Regions from separate parts of the Homo sapiens genome. Here regions 1 and 2 are each linked to region 3. The links are contacts of gene promoters, found by promoter capture Hi-C in human tissues and cell types (Jung and others, 2019). All regions are on one chromosome and are shown on one strand. Each heading gives the region's core, a stretch centred on a gene start or on the middle of the fragment in contact. The rest is flanking DNA. Distances are from core to core; before and after follow the strand shown. Region 1 overlaps OBI1-AS1 (OBI1 antisense RNA 1). Region 2 has its middle 84 kb from the start of OBI1. Region 3 holds the start of POU4F1 (POU class 4 homeobox 1).

The links. Contacts are between HindIII fragments. The study calls those that stand out against the background at their distance.
Region 1: a fragment that was not itself captured here is called in contact with the fragment with the promoter of POU4F1 in region 3 in 2 of the 25 tissues and cell types used here (lymphoblastoid cells and pancreas).
Region 2: a fragment that was not itself captured here is called in contact with the fragment with the promoter of POU4F1 in region 3 in 1 of the 25 tissues and cell types used here (lymphoblastoid cells).

What each region holds. Positions count from the first base shown.
Region 1 is chr13:78,473,547-78,477,215 of GRCh38, reverse strand. The region is part of intron 3 of OBI1-AS1 (OBI1 antisense RNA 1); the gene reads right to left. Among named protein-coding and RNA genes, the nearest start is that of POU4F1, 130 kb to the left of the region's middle. The HindIII fragment of the contact is 3,683 bases long and covers 1-3,654 here.
Region 2 is chr13:78,740,963-78,744,372 of GRCh38, reverse strand. No RefSeq gene overlaps it. Among named protein-coding and RNA genes, the nearest start is that of OBI1, 84 kb to the right of the region's middle. The HindIII fragment of the contact is 3,947 bases long and covers 1-3,410 here.
Region 3 is chr13:78,602,177-78,605,478 of GRCh38, reverse strand. POU4F1 (POU class 4 homeobox 1) reads left to right here and starts at 1,927. Exons shown (of 2, transcript NM_006237.4): 1 at 1,927-2,275; 2 at 2,928-3,302. The coding sequence starts at 2,153. OBI1-AS1 (OBI1 antisense RNA 1) reads right to left here. Exons shown (of 6, transcript NR_047001.1): 4 at 35-178. RefSeq lists a silencer at 1,977-2,136. The HindIII fragment of the contact is 11,230 bases long and covers 1-3,302 here.

The DNA.
Region 1 (3,669 bases), core at 564-3,063, 130 kb after region 3:
AGAAAAATAGGTCACCAGTTTGATAAGGAAGTGGACGGATGGTGAAGTGTGGGGGCGGAAAAGAGCCAGCAGAATTAACAAAGGTAATTAAAGTAGCAGAAGCGAGAGAAGCTGGTTTTCACACTGCCAAATATATTTCAACTGAGCAAAAAGGAGAGTTATTCACATACATGTATTCACAGAAGGCAGAAACAGAGAACAAAAATAACCGTGAAAACCGACACTGGAAATTAAAGAGGAGGAAATAGAGTAGTTAATTCTTGTCTTCAGCCTAGTTTTTTTCCCCAAGCTGAAAAACGACTGTGAATTATATAAGCAAAGCTAGAATAAAATTACTGTGAAATAATGCTAACTTTTTAGCAGCCTCCTTTAAGTGCATCCTCCTTATTTGTCAATTCACCTGCCAAGCATACAAGAACATTCATTTTTTTTTTTCTCCTTGAACTACCCACAGATTGGGCAATCTTCATGCACTGAAAGCGTGTGTTTCTTCATGCATTGGTGCATGCTGAATAGGGCTGTCCTTTTTCCAAATTATCAGCTGCTTGCCTGGGCAATTTCCATGAGCAAATATGGGTATTTGCACACGCAAATGGAAGTGCGTGAAAATAATATGTGCTCGCTATTAGTGGGCCCAGCCAGGGTTTGCCTTTTTGGAGTTAAAAGCCCTGTAAAGGCCACATGGATTTCTGAGGAAGCTTCATTTAGCAAGCACAATTCATGAGCCAAGCCAAGGAGTTATAATTCCACTAGCTAAATATCCCTTTGTGAAGATAATAGATTTTTTTAAAGGACTTGGACTTGCAGAATGGTTTAAAAGGCGACATTTTACTAGGATATGGTATAAGCTAACTTTTGGCTCTGAAGTATTTACTAATATGTTATGGGTTTGAGATGTACGGTGCAACTTTCCATTTCCTCTTAAAGTGTCACTGGAAAGGTTATATAGTTATGAAAAACAAACGTGAGAGCTTAAACATTCAGGGTTATATTGCCAAATAATATCTGAAATGCAAAGGATTACAAAAATTAGCAAAGATTAGTAATTACACAGAGCCAAGCTTCCTCTCAGAGGACACATAATATTTTAATACTTTAGGAAATCTATTTACCATTTTACCAGTGCAGTATTCTAGTGCATATGTCTTATAGCTATGCTCACACACATATCCATATTTTGAGGAATGTATTAATTTCTTCTTGCCAGAAATCTTCTAGCCATGGCTTAAGAAGTGACTTCCAGTCTCTCTAATTGTTCTAGAATCTTTTAAAACCTCCCAGCTCACAGAGTCTGAAGTCTGAATCTTGCCTTTCATGACACAAGCACAAAATCCTAAAATGTATTTTTCAATTTGCATTTTCACAAAATAATTTTCTTAGTTAAGCTATTCTGAAGTATCATTTAGGAATTTCTGCTTTCTTATACATTGTTTATCTTTTCTCAACACTATTTTTTTAAATGAAAAAGAATACAAGGGGGAAAGGGAGATTTTATTGGACCTTCCAAATACAAAACAACTGATTAACAAGTGAAAAACTGAATCAATCAACTGGAATTGGTATATACTGAGTAATGAGTGAGTCAAATGATGTTTTCCCCATTATTTCTCATCAGTGATTTTCTTGAATTGAGGTGGCAGATTGAATTTTCCAAAGAGGGCTGCAATGCAACTTCGTATCCTACATGCTATTCTAGAACCTTGCCACAGTCCTTTCAGGAAAGAATGTCAAATTCTCTCCTCTGTGAACCTGGGCCACTTGTGAGTTGCTTATCGATGGGAGAATGCAGTGGAAGTAACGCGTGTGATTTCTGAGGCTGAGTTAGAAGAGACATTGCGGCGTTGCTTTGTTGGCCAGGACACTCAACTCCCGAAACCCTGACCCGCCATGTAGAAGTCTAATCATCCTAAGCTTCCATGCAATGAGGAAGCCCAGGGACAGGTAGAGGCCACTTGTAGGTGCTCCTGCCAACAGGCTGAGGTGCCAGGTGGCAGCCAGCATCCACCACCAGGCATGTGGCGAAGATGCCTCCAGATGACTTCAGCCCCCAGTTATTGATTCACCCCCAGCCTTTGAGTCTTCTAGCTGGGAACCCTGACATTACAGAGCAGAGACAAGCCATTCCCAGGAAGCCATGCCTGAATTACTGACTCACAGAACCTAATAGCTCAATATAATGTGTATGCTTGCTGCTAAGTTTTGGGTTACAGTTGCCCCTCCCTCTGTATCTATGGGCCACATCCCTGGTTTCAATAAACTGCAGATCAAACATTCAAAAAAAAAATTACAAAATTACAGTATAACAACTATTTATACAACATTTACATTGTATTAGCTATAGAGATAGAGATAATGCCAAGTATACAGGAGGGTGTGTGTAGGTTATAGGCAAAAACCGCACCATTTTATATAGCAGACTTGAATGTCTGCAGATTTTTGGTATCTGCAGGGGTTCCTGGAACCAGTCACCCACGGATATAGAGGAATGACTATAATTTATTATGTAGCACTAGTAACGAGAACTGTCAACAAATTACTTGAGACAAAATGTTCAAATCTAAACAGTCAGAAAGTATCATCTCATATTTCAGAGTCCATTTGGGATAAGATGTTGAGCTACTCATTTCCAAAATCCAGTGGCATTTGATAATTTTCCAGGGAGAAATTCCACAGGTTAATTATTTTTAGGTCAACAGTCTCTATTTTAAAATGTTGTAGCTTAAAAAAAGTATATACAAAAGTTTATTTTTTAAAAGATCTCATTAATAAATTGACAGACTAGGGGATTCATTGCACAGAGTGCCCTTGGAAAACACATAATTTGAGCTTGGCCAACAGGCAGGTTGCCAGTATATGCGGATGCAGGGGCGGCTGCTCCCATTCCATTTTCACTCTTCTTTTCCTTTCTCATCCCCTTTCTTTTCTCTCCTAGCTAGTGCCCACTTACAAAGTGGCTGTTGCATGTATGTGGTGTTCAGCCATGTGTGATAAGATGCAAAATGAGCCAGGAGCCTGTAATCCCAGCAGTTTGGGAGGCCGAGGTGGGTGGATCACCTGAGGTAGGGAGTTCGAGACCAGCCTGACCAACGTGGAGAAACCCTGTCTACTAAAAATACAAAAAAAATTAGCTGGGCATGGTGGCACATGTCTGTAATCCCAGCTACTCGGGAGGCTGAGGCAGGAGAATCACTTGAACCCAGGTGGCAGAGGTTGCGGTGAGCCGAGATAGAGCCGTTGCACTCCAGCCTGGACAACAAAAGCAAAACTCTGTCTCGAAAGAAAAAAAAATTGCAAAACAAAAGTAACTTATGTCTGGCCTCTCATCCTGTAATCCTACATGTACTGGATCATGGGAAAAGTTACTTATATGTGAAATAAACATGAACTTTTAATTTCACCTCATAAGTCATGATGAGAAAAAGCCAATAAATTCTTTTCACCAAATATTTTGAACCTGAGAGTGCCTAATGCTAATGATGAAAAGACAGATCCATGGCTAGAGAAGTGCAACAGAAAAGCACAGTAATAACTTTCTGGTATATAATATACATATTTAATGGACGAAAAAAGAATTCTAAGAGGAATAAATAGTTAGGAGTGGAAAACAGAAGCATAAGATAAAGAAATAAGCTGCAGTGAGAAAACAATTCTCAGCAATAGCTCCTGTAT
Region 2 (3,410 bases), core at 426-2,925, 140 kb before region 3:
ATTCCAAAGAAGGGACTTCACCGCTCACTCTGAAAGACAACCTCACATTTGTATTGACTTGCTCTGGGAAAGTATTTCCTGAGACCCTTTCTAAAGTTCCCCCTTGCTCCCCCTTATGCTGTTACTAGTAGCTTGGGCTTTTGGCTGTCGTTGATGGAGAGGTGGGGATGCCTCATTTCTAAGTGCTCCTGGAAAGTGCTGACTTGGCAATCCTGGACACAGAGGGTTTTAAATATCCCCAGAAGAGGCAGAACCTATTCAATGGCAGCAGGAGTTTTCCACAAAGGCTTGCCAATAGACTTCCAGCTTGATTTGTAAAGCTTACTTTTTTACTTTTAGTTGTAGGGCCGGGAGAGGTGATTTGAATTGGAAGATGTGATAGTACAACTAGGTGAATCCAAATTAATTTCTCATGAACCAAAGAAAACCCAGAAATGATTATCTTGATTGCCTGATGCCTCATTTAGCTTCTCTTAACAACTCTCTGCTGACTGCTCCTAAACAGTCATGGGATTTTTGAAAATACCATCAGGTTAAGGCTTGATGTTTTTAACATCTTCAATTAGACCTAAAATGTATGAATGTGAATTGTGGACATGCCTTTAGTAAGAAGCCAAAAAATAATTTAAAGGGAAAAAAAATCCTCTAAAACCTACCCCTCCCTTCTCACCTCCCACATTCATGAGGGAGGACAGGGGAGAGCTAGCTACTGAAGACTGTCCATGGTTAATTACAAAAAAAAAATCTTTGAGACAAAGAAGAATTAAACATGATAGGAAATGCATCTAGTCATATTGAATTGCCTTGAAACTGCCTTCTAGAAAATTCTGATTCTTCAGTTTTATTCCAATCTCTCCACAACTTGAAACGAGCTTCTTGCTAGGAATAGTAGTATTACATTAAAAATATAAACAATTATTAGAAATATATAGTCTTAGAAACCATTAAATTTGTTCCTTAAGCAGGTTTATTACTTTTCTGCATACTTGCATGAAAATTTGTCTTCTACCAATTTGACATAAAATAGCCAGGATCAGATTTATTCATCTTATCAATACCATTATTTTGTACTGTCAGGTATTTAGAATATTATCTGGGTTGCAGGTATAGTTTTTCAAAAAGCTGACTTTCCCTTCCCCCATCAACCAACACACCAATGTTGAGCAATTATTTCATTGGTTGAAAAATAAGCTTAGTCTTATATCAAAGGCTCTGCTGCACCTGTAGTGATTTAGAATTCAAATGTGGCTAATTTATAAAACAACCACATTTCACTGTTCACAGCAGGAATCAGGGACTTAATACAAACTCCACTCAGAACACCATCTCTTTGCTTAGGCCTTTTGCCTTCAGAAACATCTCTAGCTACTACTAATAAACATTTCCTTTCTTTCAGCCCCTAAAAGCTCAGTCACAGGGGCACAGTATCACGGTGTTTGGATTTTGTGTTGGAGAACCACAGACCCGGTCAGAACACAGCCGCCTGCATTTTGGTTGGCTGAGAGGGCTCTTAGTGACTGACGAGTGGTGCAGCTTATGAGCACTCCAGATTTTCCGCCCACTAATTCTACAAGGGTAGCAAACCAGGCCCAGGAGACACTGATTGGAAAGCAAAACTAGAAGAGAGAAAGAGTGTGTGCAGTATAATCTGGTGTAGGACACAAGTCTCATGAGTGAAAGATGAGTTTTATAATTGGTTCTAAACAAAATGAGAGGCACAGTGCTTGTTCAAAGAAGGAAAGAAAGAGGAAGCTGGGAGATTTCTAAAATAGTTTTATTTTAACAGAGAGTCACAGTCAGAAAGGTTGAAAGGTGGGAAAAGGAAAGGGCTTGGCAGGAAAATATGGTGGAGGATAGGAAGGTGTGAGTGGGTGATTTAGCCATGTAAATCTCATGGCTCTAGGGCTTTGAGCAAGTCGAATTGTCCAGCCCTGTGGATGCTAGCCTAGAAAACAGGGACCTTAAAGAGTTCACAAGGAGCAAGAAAGGAAATCTGTGACAGTGGTTGACAAACTAAAAACACACTTTTAGTCATCCTCATTGTCATCATTGCTCTCTTACCCTTTCTCTTTTTGTAATTTTACCTCTTTTTCTTGGTTATTTCTTTTCAATTAGGGTGGGATTTTTTTTATGCAGAATTCTATGTCAGCCCTGGAAATTGTTTCTTTCTTTCCTCAATTAGTACACGAGTTAGTCTTTTCTTGATCAATCCATCACCCACCTGGGGCCAGACACATGACCTCTTGTATCTGAAACAGTTCAGAAACACAATTTCATGTTATTAAATTTACTAGGAAGAAATTGCTTTCCATATTTATATTCACCTCTATACACAAGTCTGGAACCTAGCACTTCTCTAAAGAAGAAAGAGGAAGAGAAAGAGGATGATGAGGATGAGAAGAAGCAAAAGTAGAAGCCAATATTTGTGAGACTTCATGATGAGTGTTAATGTCATTTGGATAAATGGGCTGATAGCTCATAAAGAGTGATCTATGCAAAAGTACCTGGGTTCAGATTGGGCTTTCAGCCTCAAAAGGCACAGGAACCAAGGTAGAGGTGTACAGAAATCTTGGTGAGGAGTGCACAGTCTCCTGCAGATGCCAATATCAGAATCATTCTGCTCCAACCACTTTTTGTCATGTATCACTCTGTTCAAAAATAAAATAAAATCCCCAAAAAGATAAAGTATGGCCAGTTTGGACCATGGACTTGCACCTTGGCTAAGGGGCAGGAATGGAAGATGAGGCACAAGGGCACTACAAGTTCCATCAGGACGACCAAGATGCAGTGAGGGTGGGTTTTGATTTCATGTTGAAGAACAACAGACCTGGTCAGAACACAGCCACCTGCATTTTTGTTGGCTGAGAGGGCTCTTAGTGGCTGACAAGTGAAGCAGCTTATGAGCACTCCGGATTTTCCACCCAGTAAATCTATATGAATAGCAAACCAGGCCCAGGAGACACTGATTGGAAAGCAACAGTAGAAGAGAGAAAGAGTGTGTGCAGTAAAATCTGGTGTGGGACACTTGTCTCATGTCCTACACATAAGAAAATATGGTGCTGTTATCAAGAGAAAGAAGAAGAAAAGAGAGAGAGAGACACAGAGAATTGAGACAGTAGATACTGAGCCACCAAAATTCACAAATCTCTACCACATGAAAGACCTCCACTTCTGAACTCAACTTGTTGTTCTCTTTTATTAAAAAACAAAACAGATTCATTTTATTGTCCAGTTAACTCCGGTCTAGATCTAACATATCTAAAATGCAGTGGGACCTTTATCTACCTTGTCCTGGCTTATGCCTAAGATTACACAAGCTTTTGTCAGCCACTTTTCATTACATGTTCATAGGAGTGCAAAGTCAGAGGAAACCCCTAAGACTTTCGTAGGATTGGTGTTTAAGTCAGGTC
Region 3 (3,302 bases), core at 678-3,177:
GGACTCCCGGTGTGATGACTACCGTAGGACTCACTCTTTCCCTCTAGCGACGTCCTGCTCATCGTCCACTCCCCGTTGAGATAAAGTTGCATTTAGCGCTCCCAGGGGACTGCGTAATGGATGGAACCAGCTCCTTCTCTCACCAGCAAGTGAACATCCTTCTCACTTCCCTCTGGAGCTAGAAGGAAGGGAGGGGGTGGGGGGGAACATGAAAAGAAAGAAAGAAAAAGCCATGGTGACGCCTGTGGGCTCTTCTTGGAATCTGAGTAGGTGAGTGGGTATGCTAAACACACATGCATTTGTGCAGAGGAAAGATAAAATCCACGGGAACGCAAATTTAGGTTTATAGAAATGAGATCTGCTCTTTGGTGGAAATACAGACTTCCTTGGTGTGGGAGAGAACAGAAAGATTATCTGATTTCTGCTTTCCATAAGCAGCCCCTTGCTGCTCTCCAGCTCTCTTACCGCAGATGTGATAACATCTGGGCTGTTAGGTTATTATCACCGCGAGCAAGTGCTCCTTCCCTGGGGACTTTGGCACCTGAACTGTGGCTCCCCTGGGAGGCTCTTGATCTGCTACCACATAAGGGCCATATAACAGGTTGGCTAATTGATTTATTCTTTTTAGGTCTTAATTTCACAATAATTTTTTAAAAATTTAAAAACTGGACCAGAGCTTGTCCCCGTTCTTTCAAATTGGCTTGATTTAATATTTTTGAATCAAGCTTTCCTGTAAGTTAGTTTGATCTGTCTCCTATTGAAAAAAATATATATAAGCAGGCAGAGATATGAGGCAAAAAGCCAAAAAGATGGAAGGGAAAAGAAAGTTCTCTTTTCAACATCTTATTCCCTTTTCTCTGAAGCAGTTTTCCTGGAGTTCCCAGCATAAAGTGTGTGTGTGTGTGTGTGTGTGTGTGTGTGTGTGTGTACGCTGAGGGGAGGAAGGATCCCAACTACACCCTGTTAACTGTTTTTTCCTTTTGATTACTAGAAGCCTTAGATCACCCGGAGCTCGTTTGAAACGTGGGTTTGTACACGGTTGAAGGAGACAAACAATAAGAGAAATGCACAATTTCATTTCAACAGCTTTTCCCGAGTAGAAAGCACACGCTCCTTGTGGCTCCTAAGTGGCTGTCACTGGCGGTGCCTGACACAGTTATATTCACAACAACAACAAAAAAGTATGCGGAGGAAATTAAATTATATGGAAATCAATAGCGTCTGACTGCTTCAAACAAATGTCTGTCACCGCGATTATTCTCCAGGAACCTATTTATAAACCTTTAAAGAAACAGGTTCTTGCAGCAAAAGACAGCACCTTCTGCATTTCTGTGTTGTTATTTATACTGTATACAGAGGAATGCGCGGGCATAATTTAACGTAGAAATGTCCAGCTGTATACATTATACAACAGCTTGTTAGGCATCCCGAAGAGGAGGAATGCCTAAGTAATGCTCATATATTCAAGGCTTGCTATCAGGGAGAAGAAACATACACACATACACACACACGCACGCACACACACACACACACACACACATAGAGGGGCGTGCGCGCATCTCGTCTTTTTTATTCTAAAAGGTGCCCACCCTTAGACAATAGCTGGACCTTCTGATCTTTCCAGACCACGGTGGGAAAGGTGAGGCGGGCAGTGCGCATGCCCGGGTAGCTACAGGTGCATCACCTGCGCTGTCCTTGCTGGTGGTCACTATAAGAGCGGCTCCCACGCGCTGGTCGCGGCCGGACGAGCGCGCGCGCGCGCAGACGCACGGGGCCGCCGAGAAGGAGAGCGCGCGTCAGACAGACGGAGACAGCTGATGCCTGTCAGCGCGGTGGGGCCGCGAGCTCTCGCGAGAGCTCCCCGGGACGGCCGCGAGAAGTGGGGCTCAGGTGTTAGAGGAGTGCATCCCGTCGGCGCGCGGGGCTAGAGCTGTCGGAGAAGCGGGACCGCGAGGCCGGCGCGCGGCGCTCTGCGCGGTCAGAGGGAGCGCCTGGCAGCAGCAGGAGCAGCAGCAGCAGCCCGCGGCGGGGCCGCCGCCAGCCGCCGCGACCGCCGCGGCTGCAGCCTCCGAAGGGAGGCCGGGTGAGCCGGCGTACGCACTTTCCCGCGGACTTTCGGAGTGTTTGTGGATATACATGCCAAGCCGCCACGATGATGTCCATGAACAGCAAGCAGCCTCACTTTGCCATGCATCCCACCCTCCCTGAGCACAAGTACCCGTCGCTGCACTCCAGCTCCGAGGCCATCCGGCGGGCCTGCCTGCCCACGCCGCCGGTAAGCGCCCCACGCCCGCGGCCCCGGCCCGCGCGCCCGCCCCTCCCCGTCTCCGAAACGCTGCATGTCGGGGGCTGGTGTGTGCAGGTCCCGGTGCGGGGAACTGCGGGCAGGGGGTGTAGAGCAGTCCCGCAGCGAGGCACGTTTTGTCCGGCGGCCCTTAATGTCGTGTTCCTGTCTGCCTCTGCCTCCGCGTCAGGCGCCTGCGATCGGAGTAGGGAGCGCTGGGGCCAGGACTCTCGACTTCCCTCTACTTTCTCTGTTAATTTCACGCCTCAGAAAGGCAGTCTCTGTGCGTGCTCGGGTGTGTGACACGGGTCCCCAGCTGCGAGTTACATTTCCATTTCTTCTTTTCCCTCTTTTTCGTCTCCCACGCCCGTTTCCGGAATGTGTTCTTGTGTCCCCCTTTCTCCCTACTTCTGTCCCCCTCTCCACGCTCCCATCCCTTCTCGTCTGCCCCCTCCCTGGTCGTCAATGTGCCCCCTCTCCGTCTTTCCCGCTCTCCACTGCCCCCAAACCCGTTGTTATTTTGGTTGCTTTGTGTTTGCCCTTCGCATGCTGTGCTTTCCGGCCTGTGTGTGTGTTTCTTCTGTTGTTTTGTTTTGCTCTTTTGGTTTTGTGGTTTTTTTGGTTTGGTTTGTGTCGCCTGCAGCTGCAGAGCAACCTCTTCGCCAGCCTGGACGAGACGCTGCTGGCGCGGGCCGAGGCGCTGGCGGCCGTGGACATCGCCGTGTCCCAGGGCAAGAGCCATCCTTTCAAGCCGGACGCCACGTACCACACGATGAACAGCGTGCCGTGCACGTCCACTTCCACGGTGCCTCTGGCGCACCACCACCACCACCACCACCACCACCAGGCGCTCGAACCCGGCGATCTGCTGGACCACATCTCCTCGCCGTCGCTCGCGCTCATGGCCGGCGCGGGCGGCGCGGGCGCGGCGGCCGGCGGCGGCGGCGCCCACGACGGCCCGGGGGGCGGTGGCGGCCCGGGCGGCGGCGGCGGCCCGGGCGGCGGCCCCGGGGGAGGC